Regions from separate parts of the Homo sapiens genome. Here region 2 is linked to region 1. Evidence: promoter capture Hi-C in human tissues and cell types (Jung and others, 2019). All regions are on one chromosome and are shown on one strand. The core of a region is centred on a gene start or on the middle of the fragment in contact, and the rest is flanking DNA. Distances in the headings are between cores, read along the strand shown.

Evidence for each region. The method cuts DNA at HindIII sites, captures the fragments that hold promoters and counts their contacts. A contact is called where the count stands out against the background at its distance.
Region 2: a fragment that was not itself captured here is called in contact with the fragment with the promoter of C2orf72 in region 1 in 2 of the 25 tissues and cell types used here (lymphoblastoid cells and mesendoderm cells).

What each region holds. Positions count from the first base shown.
Region 1 is chr2:231,034,505-231,039,597 of GRCh38, forward strand. It overlaps C2orf72 (chromosome 2 open reading frame 72), which reads left to right and starts at 3,019. Exons shown (of 3, transcript NM_001144994.2): 1 at 3,019-3,695. The coding sequence starts at 3,062. The HindIII fragment of the contact is 15,599 bases long and covers 1-5,093 here.
Region 2 is chr2:230,839,771-230,844,863 of GRCh38, forward strand. No RefSeq gene overlaps it. Among named protein-coding and RNA genes, the nearest start is that of ITM2C, 23 kb to the right of the region's middle. RefSeq lists an enhancer at 3,906-4,531. The HindIII fragment of the contact is 4,352 bases long and covers 278-4,629 here.

The DNA of each region.
Region 1 (5,093 bases), core at 1,769-4,268:
TGGAAATTTGTAATTAGTTGTGGAGATTTAGAGGCTGAGAATATATAGTTCAGGAGGCAGAGCATGTTGGTTTTAGACAAGCCTTGTAAGAATGTGCTAAAAATCCCAGTATACCTGACAGTGCTTCTCTAGAACTTGTCTTTCTCTCTTCCTCAGAGGTGACCTGGATGGGGTTAATTCCCTTTCTGGTCAACTTGTAGGTTTCACCCTGGCTCTGCCACCCACCCTCCCAGTTTATTATACCCACTTAGGCTGTGCTTTGCTGGCATGGCCTTGCACTGTTATTTAGACAAGTGATTTAATCCCTCTTACTTGCTATTATTGAGCACTCTTAGTTCCTCTTTTTTTTTTTTTTTTTTTAAGATAGTCTCACTCTGTCACCCAGGCTGGAGTACACTGGTATAATCTTGGCTCACCGCAACCTCCGTCTCCTGGGTTCAAGCGAGTCTCCTGCCTCAGCCTCCCAAGTAGCTGGGATTACAGGCACACACCACCATGCCCAGCTAATTTTTGTATTTTTATTGGAGACGGGGTTTCACCATTTTGGCCAGGCTGGTCTTGAACTCCTGACTTCAGATGATCTGCCAGCCTCAGTCTACAAAGTGCTGGGGTAACAGGAGTGAGCCACCATGCCCAGCCAGATTTAGTTCCCTTTTTGATAGGGCACTTCCTCCAATAGTGTTTTCAAAGAGGGGCTATATGTGATACGCCTTCTGATTCTTTATATACCTGATAATTTAGCTAGAAATCCAAATCTAGGGTCAAAGTTATTTTTCTTTGATACTTTAAAACAATTTTTCCATTTTTTCTTAAACCCAATGTTGTTGCTAAGAAATCTGAAGTCAACCAGATTTTTGTTCCTTCCTCAGTCCTTCTACTACCCAGCTTCTGGGAATACAGGTGTGATGGCCCAAGCTTTAGCAGCCAATTTGGATTATGAAGATGTCAGAGGGCAATAGTGACTTGGTATGAAATCTGAGTCTTCAAACACCTAGTAAAGCAGAACTATTATACTATTTCAGCCATAAACTGTCCATCCCCAAACGTCTACAAAAGAGAAAAAGAAATTTTCATTGTTATTAGTGTTGTCTGTGTTATTAAGAAATGAATCTTAATTCATATATCCATTAAACCTGCTTTGTTTTATACTTTCCAGAAGCCTAACTGTTTTTTATTTTTTATTTTATTTTATTCATTTATTTATTTTTTGAGACAGAGTTTCGCTCTTGATGCCCAGGCTGGAGTGCAATGGCACGATCTCAGCTCACCAAAACCTCCACCTCCTGGGTTCAAGCCATTCTCCTGCCTTAGCCTCCCAAGTAGCTGGGACTACAGGCATGCACCACCATGCCTGGCTAATTTTGTATTTTTAGTAGAGACTGGGTTTCTCCATGTTGGTCAGGCTGGCCTCCAATCCCCGACCTCAGGTGATCCACCTGCCTTGGCCTCCCAAAGTGCTGGGATTACAGACACAAGCCACAGCGCCCGGCCCCAGAAGTCTAATTATTTTTCCCAGTGAATTCATGTTTCCCTAGATATCAGCTACTTTGGTTGGCGATAGGTACACCTGGAAGAGACTAAAACCTAGGCTCTTCCTATATATCCCACCTGGGAGCTTAAGGAATGGGGGTGTGATGGGACTTGCCTCTGGCATCAAATGTGAATGTAGCCACTCCCCATGTGCCACCCTCACACACACCAGACACCCCACTCAGGGAGCTTCTGGGCACTCTCCCCTGGCCAATCCTCTTTCATGAGGCAGGTCTCGTGGTTGGAATTCCTGACCCATGAAGTGGGAAGAAGAGGCTGCCGGGTCTGGTTTTTCTGTGCTGCTAGCCCCAGCCTGATATGCCATCCCTGGCTAGCACAGCTGTTTTCTGCCTCCCAGCAGTGCTGGGGAGATGGGGTTGAGAAATGGTCTACTCAGGCCAATGCAAGCAAAGAAAAGAGCACAAGTGTATAGCGTTCACTCAGCCTATCCCCCTTCTATGGCACTGAGGGGAGGAGGCGACAGGCCTTCCCTGGTTTTACATTGGTTTCTCAGAGTCCTTACCAACTCCCCTCTTGCTTCTGCGGCGTCTTTAGGGTACTATTCAGAGAAAGGTGCCAGCCCTTTAAGTACATTATCATCTTGTCACTTTCTGCTTTAATTTTACATTTCATTACAAATTACGTGAAATGTAATACTCAGTTCTTCAGTTGCACTCGCCAGATTTCAGGTACTCAATAATAGTCACATATGGTGCAGACAATAAAAAAGTTTTCCATCATCACAGAATGTTCTATTGGACAAGGCTGACCTAGATCCTTAGAAGGAAGGGAAATGCATTCCTGCTTCTGACCTGGCTGGCCCCTTGCTCCCCACGCAGATCAGAGCACCATCCGTGTCCTGCATCTGGCCCCCTAGACTTTCTGCTTTACGGAAACAGTCTGGGTTTCAACCCCAGCGCCTGGGGTGGTACAATAAGTATTTGTGGAAATAATGGACCCTCGGTCAGTTTTTGCTAAATGTTGAAGCCCAAAAGGAAAGCTGGGTGGCAGAAATAACCCCTGCGTGTTCTCTTTTATCTCACCTTCCTACCCACTTCTGCGCCCTCCGCCCCCTACCCCCCTACCTCCCACCCCACCTCGGCAAGACCCCAAACTGTGCAGGACTCTGCTCCAGGTCTCCAAACGATCTTATCTAGTGAGGGGATAATTGTCTGTCTTCCCAACCTCGGCTGCCCAGCGCCTGCACATAGTAGGTGCGCAGTAAGTATGTGTGGGATGGACGAACAAATGAATGAATGAATGACTCTCTGTTTCCCCGCGTCTGCGCAGGGACTTCGGGAGGAGCCACCCTTGGAGGGCTGAGGAGAAAGCCCTCTTCCTCCCACCCGGGCCCGCGATGCGGGCTGCGCCCAGGGGCGCGTGCACACAGAGGCCCCGCCCGGGGGCCCGGGGGTCCGGCTGGGCTCGGCCCTCGGGGGCGTGTCCTCTGTGCCGGGGCGCCACCGCCCCGAGAGGCGGGCAGCGGGTGCGCCCGGGCCGCGGCGGCCGCAGAGGGCGGGCGGCGGCCAGCATGGAGCGCGAGCTGGAGGCGCTGGCGGCCCGGCTTGCGCGCCCTGCCGAGCCGCCCTTCCAGGCGTTGGTGGAAGCGGCGGGGGGCCGCGGGCAGGTGCTGCTGGTGGGCGAGCTGTGGGAGCGCGAACAGAGCCGCGCGCTGCTGCGGGACTTCGCACGGGCGGTGTTCCCGCCGGAGCCAGGCGCGGCCAAGCCGGGCGGCGCGGCGGCAGAGGGCGCGGGGCCCGGGGCGGCGCGCGGGGCGCAGAGGGCGGCGAGGGCGGCTGGGGCGGCGGGGGCGGCGGCGGCGGCGGCGCGCGCCATCCGCTCGCCGCTGGTCTTCGTGCTGTGCCGCGCGTCGTCGCTGGCCGCCCGGGAGCCGCGGCGCCGCCTGCGGGAGATGCTGCGGGACGTGCGCGGCCGGCGGCGGGCCGGGGCGGCGCTGGTCGGGGTGCTGGTGGCCGAGGCCGGGCCAGAGGACGCGGTGGCGCCGGGGCTGCGGCTGCTGGAGGCGCTGTTGCGCGCCGTGTTCGGCCGCCAGGCGGGGGGGCCCGTGCAGGCGGCCGCCTACTGCCCCGGCCTCCCGGCCTCCTGCCTGGCCGTCCAGGCGGCCGCCTGCAGGGCCCTGCAAGCCGCCGGAGCCGGGCAACCAGGTGAGACTGCGCGGGGCCCGGCTGGGCGCGGGCGGGCGGTGGCTCGGGCACGTCCCCCAAGTTGGACCCCTTTGGCCATTCCCTTATTGAGCACCGAGGTAAACTGAGGCTCAGAGCAGGGAGGTGCCTAGAGCCAGGCCTCGCAGCTAGCGGAGAGCGGGCCGTGCGTAGCGGATCGAGTCTGTCCCGGAAGGGTCCGGAGTGCACGGGAGATGCCTAGGGGGCGTGGGAAAGCTGAGGGGCCGAGTAGAAGGCAGAGGGAGTGGGTAGAGAGAAGGGATGAATCGGGCAAGGCCGAGATCTAGGAGTTACGGGGTGGGTGGGGGTGGGGAGAGAAGAGGAGTGGGGAAGGAAATGGGAAAGCCTTGGGATGGGAAAGTTTCAAGGGGGTGGATGGGTGCTAAGGAGATTGGCGGTGCCAGAAGCTAAATTCTAGGGCGCTGCGCAGCCAGAGATGCGTCGGGAGCTCTAGGAGGGGCGGAGGGGCATCTCCAGCGCGGTGGAGGCTCGTCCTGGAAGCCCTGCCTGGTTTTAGGAAGAGGGCAAGGAATGGGTGCTCGGGACTTGACGTGTGGGGAGGTGAGAGGGACTAAGAGTACATTTTCTATTGATTTCTGGCCACCCACCAAGGCTGTGCACCCAACTGCTGTGTCCCTCAGCCTCCCCCAGGTCTGCTGAGGCCACCTTTTCCCTCCACATTCTCCTGAAAGGTGGAAGGGATTTAAGGGTCTTTTCCCAGCCCCCGTGACTGCTGCCATCAGCAGAAGGGTCAGGATCTCCTTCCTCCTGGAACACAAGGCTTTACAGGAACTCTCCAATGTTCTAGGATGAAAATATGCACATTAAGAGTAGCTGCATCTGGCTATCGCAAGGACAAAAAACCAAACACAGCATGTTCTCACTCGTAGGTGGGAATTGAATAATGAGAACACATGGACACAGGAAGGGGAACATCACACACCAGGGACTGTTGTGGCGTAGGGGGAGGGAGGAGGGATAGCATTAGGAGATATACCTAATGCTAAATGACGAGTTAATGGGTGCAGCACACTAACATGGCATATGTATACATATGTAACAAACCCGCACGTTGTGCACATGTACCCTAAAACTTAAAGTATTAAAAAAAAAAAAAAAAAAGAGTAGCTGCATCTGGCAAACCCGGGAGATCTTTGCACTCTCCAGCTCCCAGCTTTCTCTCCCTGCCCAGCTGGGCAGCCCTTCAAGCCCTCCAGCCCCTTCCTCTTAAGTAGATAATGAAGAAAGTGGCTGTATTGTGTGTCTCCTGGAGTATTGGCGTTGGTTGGGGGGCGGAGGGTCCCAGCAAGGAGACCTGTCACCTGTGATGCTGCCAATGTCACATTCACCTGCCAGCCTGGCCTGCCTGGGCGAGCGCGC
Region 2 (5,093 bases), core at 1,204-3,703, 200 kb before region 1:
AGATTATTCAAAAGGAGTTTGAAGAAGTGAATGCAACTCAAAGAATTCTTATAAAACACTTTATTTATTTATTTATTTATTTTTGTTTATTTATTTATTTATTTTTTTGAGACAGGGTTGCCCAGGCTGCAGTGCAGTGCCACAGACATGACTCACTGAAGCCTGGACCTCCTGGGCTCGAGCAATCCTCCCACCTCAGCCTCCCAAGTAGCTGGGACTACAGGTGCACACCACCACACCCGGCTAATTTTGTGTTTTTTGTAGAGACAGGGTCTTTTTAGCTTGCCCATGCTGGTCTCCAACTCCTGGGCTCAAGTAATCCACTCGCCTCAGCCTCCCAAAGTGTTGGGATTACAGCAATGAGCCACTGAGCCCAGCTAAAACACCTTAAAAGAAATCAAATGTACACTAAATTAGCTGAAGGAGATGAAATGATCGATGCCCTCATATTTAAAATCTACAAACTGAGACAGCCTCACTGAAGTCAGACAAACACAGAAAGGGGAGGTAACAGCTCCAGCAAAAGGAGAGGTAACAGCTCCAGCAGGAACTCCAAGTCCTTCCTGAATTGCATCAAGAAAAAGAAATCAGTGTGCATCAAATAGCCAATTTAGAGAGAATTTGCCCTTTAATAATAGAGGAGACTATTTCCGAAGCAGATGGCAAGATCAAGCATGCTGGAGACTTATAAAGTACAAGCCCAAATTCTGTCAGAAAAATGCAGAAGGATCATAAGCTGTTACTCAAGCTAGCCTATTTCCTGTAAGAGAAAAAACCCACGATAATAGGCTGAGAGCTCTGTTGGCTGGAAAAAAAAAAAAAAAAAACCTTAGAAACTTAAGAAAAATTGTACTTTAGTAAAAATTATTGGAGAAGAATGTTAATGCTTTTAAGAGTATGCCTGCAACCCTGATGTTCCAAATGGGTATTTGGCCAAGGCCAAGAGAACCACCAAGCAGGGCTGCCACATTAAACACAGGACAGCCAGCTAAATTTGACAGACTCATACTACACAAATTATCATTATTTTATTCTTTGAGACAGGGTCTCATTCTGTCACCCAGGCCGGAGTGCTGTGGTGCGATCACAGCTCACTGCAGCCTCAACTTCCTGGGCTCAAGCCATCCTCCTGCCTCAGCCTCCTGAGTAGCTGGGACTACAGGCGGGCACCACCACGCTCAGCTAATTTTTAAATTTTTTTTGTAGAGATGGGGTCTCGCTTTGTGGTACAGGCTGGTGTTGAACTCCTGGGCTCAAGCGATCCTCCTGCCTTAGCCTCCCAAAGTGCTGGGGTTACAGGTGTGAGCCACTGCACTGGGCTATTTCTGATCTTTATTGAAAAAAAATCTAACTATCTTTTAAAGCTGTCTTTAAACACTTATTTATCCATATTTGGATTTTAGTTATCTCTGCCCAACTTTCATTCTTTCTTTCTGTCTTTTTTTTTTTTTTTGAGAGGGAGTTTCACTCTTGTTGCCCAGGCTGGAGTGCAATGGAAGGATCTCAGCTCACCACAACCTCCGCCACTCAGATTCAAGCGATTCTTCTGCCTCAGCCTCCCGAGTAGTTGGGATTACAGGCATGCGCCACCACGCCCAGCTAAATATATACATAATTTTTTTTTTTTTTTTTTAGTACAGCTGGGGTTTCTCCATGTTGGTCAGGCTGGTCTCGAACTCCCGACTTCAGGTGATCCACCCGCCTCGGCCTCCCAAAGTGCTGGGATTACAGGCATGAGCCACTGCATCCAGCCATCTCTGCCCAACTTTCTACCTCCCTTCATCCTAATTGTCCTCCACAGCTCCTTTCCCACAGTCCTCGCCTGCACAGTAAGAGCTCCAGGCTATGCATCCAGACAGACTGATCTACTAAATGTGTGACCTCAAGCAAGTACCTTAACCGTGTGTGTGTGTGTGTGTGTGTGTGTGTGTGTGTGTTTGAGACACCGTATCACTCTGTCACCCAGGCTAGAGTGCAGTGGCGTGATCTCAGCTCAACACAACCTCTACCTCCTGGATTCAAGTGATTCTCATGCCTCAGCCTCCCAAGTAGCTGGGACTACAGGTGCACACCACCATGCCCCGCTAATTTTTGTATTTTTAGTAGAGATGGGGTTTCGCCATGTTGGCCAGGCTGGTCTCAAACTCCTGACCTCAGGTGATCCACCTGCCTTGGCCTCCCAAAGTACTGGGATTATAGGTGTGAGCCAATTTGCCCAGCCACCTTAACCTTTTGTATGTCAGTTTCCTTGTCTGTAAAACCAGGATAAAAGTGGTACCTTTACATAAGGGATATGTTCAAATTAAGAGAAATAATATGTCAAACACTTGGAAGTATTTTTATACTTGCTGTATAAAACTTGCTGTATATAACTGTTTTATTCAACTGAATTTAGTAAGCACTAAAGATGATAAAGCACAATAACCTACTATTAGCAGTTACTGAACAACTGTTTCTTGAGTTAGGCATTGTAACAACCACTGGGTGTATGAAGATAATGAAGACAAAGTTGCTGTCACTGGGGTCTCTACATGCAGAAAGGAAGATGAGAAAACAATAAGCAATGGGATGGAATGGAACATCATATCATAAAGTAAGAGTTCATCAGCAACTGCTCTCCCCAGGGCCCAGTAAGGGACCCCTGACCCAGTCATTCATGAAGAGAAGGAGGCCATTACGGCAGAAGTAACAGAGGAAAGACAGGCTCAATTTTCCAACAAGCCAGATGCCCATAGAACTGAAGCTTGAGAAACTTCCATTTGTACAGTGAGTCACACCTGCTGCCTGTTGACCAGCTCCTCTTCTTCACCCCTCCCTAACTCCTGTTCTCCTGCACGTGGTTATGAGACAGACGCTAGACCCCTCATCTGACCACCTGCTGAGCAACTCTTCTTCCTTGCCCCACCTGTTTTCCTTCCCCTGCTATAATCTAAACCCCTAACTTTAGTTGGCGAGAGAAAGACATATTTGAGGCTTGCCTCCCATCTCTCCAGCTGACGTCACCTGTAATAAAGCCATTTTCCTTGGCAATACTCACTGTCTCAGCGACTGGCTTTCTGTGTGGCAAGCAGCGGGACCTAGGCTGAACCCCTAGCAATCAGTAACAGGCATTGCTGTTTTAAAGGCTCCAAGTCACTAAAGGAGATGAGGTTGAGAATATAGACAGCAGAACAGACAAATCATTAAAGATGCTGATGGTAGACAGTACAGATTCTGGAGGTGGCCTGCTTGGGTTCAAATCCTTGTTCTACCGCTTAGCAGCTTGGTGACTTTGCGAAAATTAAATGCCTCAGTTTCCAGGTCTATAAAATGGGGACAATAGTAATGGTAGTAATAACTACCTCATAGAGATGGGAGAAATTAAGTAATGGACATAAAGTGCTTAGCACTATGCCTGTATTGAAAGTAGTAAATGCTCAATACATGTTAGCGGCTGCTGCTTTTAATATAGATCTAGATCTCTATCTTCCAAGATGACATAGGTATAGATATATGAATAACTATAGATACCTCAGGGGAACCGCCTTCCTCACCATGTCCGCCCAGTTTTATGCTGGGAAACCGAATCATCTTAAGTCATTTCCTGGTAGACTTTGTTCACAACAGTTCTGTCCTAGCTGCTGAGAGGAAAGCATGAGTAGATTTTCTGTGCCTACCCTGTTCCCACCCACTAATTATTCTGGACTCCTCAACCCTCCTTTCCAGATACCTGTCCCTGTCCAATCTCCTAAGTAACCAAGTCAATTAATATATAAAGGTTTAGCACTGAAGAACTGCCAGGAGCAGAGGGTCCCTGGTGGCTAAGCAGACTGTATTCTACCTCCCAGGTTTCTTCCTCCTTCCCTTGGAGGGTCTCTAGTTTCTATTGTGTAGGGGTGGGTTGCCCCTCCACACCTGTGGGTGTTTCTCGTAAGGTGGAACGAGAGACTTAGGAAAGAAAAAGACACAGACAAAGTATAGAGAAAGAAATAAGGGGACCCGGGGGACCAGCGTTCAGCATATGGAGGATCCCGCCAGCCTCTGAGTTCCCTTAGTATTTATTGATCATTCGTGGGTGTTTCTCCGAGAAGGGGATGTGTCAGGGTCACAAGACAATTGTGGGGAGAGGGTCAGCAGACAAACACGTGAACAAAGGTCTTTGCATCATAGACAAGGTAAAGGATTAAGTGCTGTGCTTTTAGATATGCATACACATAAACATCTCAATGCTTTACAAAGCAGTATTGCTGCCCGCAGGTGCCACCTCCAGCCCTAAGGCGGTTTTTCCCTATCTCAGTAGATGGAACATACAATCGGGTTTTATACCGAGACATTCCATTGCCCAGGGACGGGCAGGAGACAGACGCCTTCCTCTTGTCTCAACTGCAAGAGGCATGCCTTCCTCTTATACTAATCCTCCTCAGCACAGACCCTTTACGGGTGTCGGGCTGGGGGACGGTCAGGTCTTTCCCTTCCCACGAGGCCATATTTCAGACTATCACATGGGGAGAAACCTTGGACAATACCTGGCTTTCCTAGGCAGAGGTCCCTGCGGCCTTCCGCAGTTTTTGTGTCCCTGGGTACTTGAGATTAGGGAGTGGTGATGACTCTTAATGAGCATGCTGCCTTCAAGCATCTGTTTAACAAAGCACATCTTGCACCGCCCTTAATCCATTCAACTCTGAGTTGACACAGCACATGTTTCAGAGAGCACGGGGTTGGGGGTAAGGTCACAGAATCTCAAGGCAGAAGAATTTTTCTTAGTACATAACAAAATGGAGTCTCCTATGTCTACTTCTTTCTACACAGACACAGTAACAATCTGATCTCTCTTGCTTTTCCCCACACTATTGCCTTTGTCATCCTCACCCATCCATCCATCCATCCAGCCAGCCAGCCAGCCAGCCATTCATTCAGCCATCCATGTGGCCATCCAAACATCTATCAACCAGGGGCAATTTTGCAAGGAACTTCCAGCAATGCCTAGAGATAGATATTCTTTGGTTATCACAATTGGTGGTGAGGAGCAGGATGCTTCTGGCATCCAGTAGTTGGAGACCAGGGATGTTACTAATGCAGAGGACAGCCCATACAACTGAGTTTTTCAGCCTAAA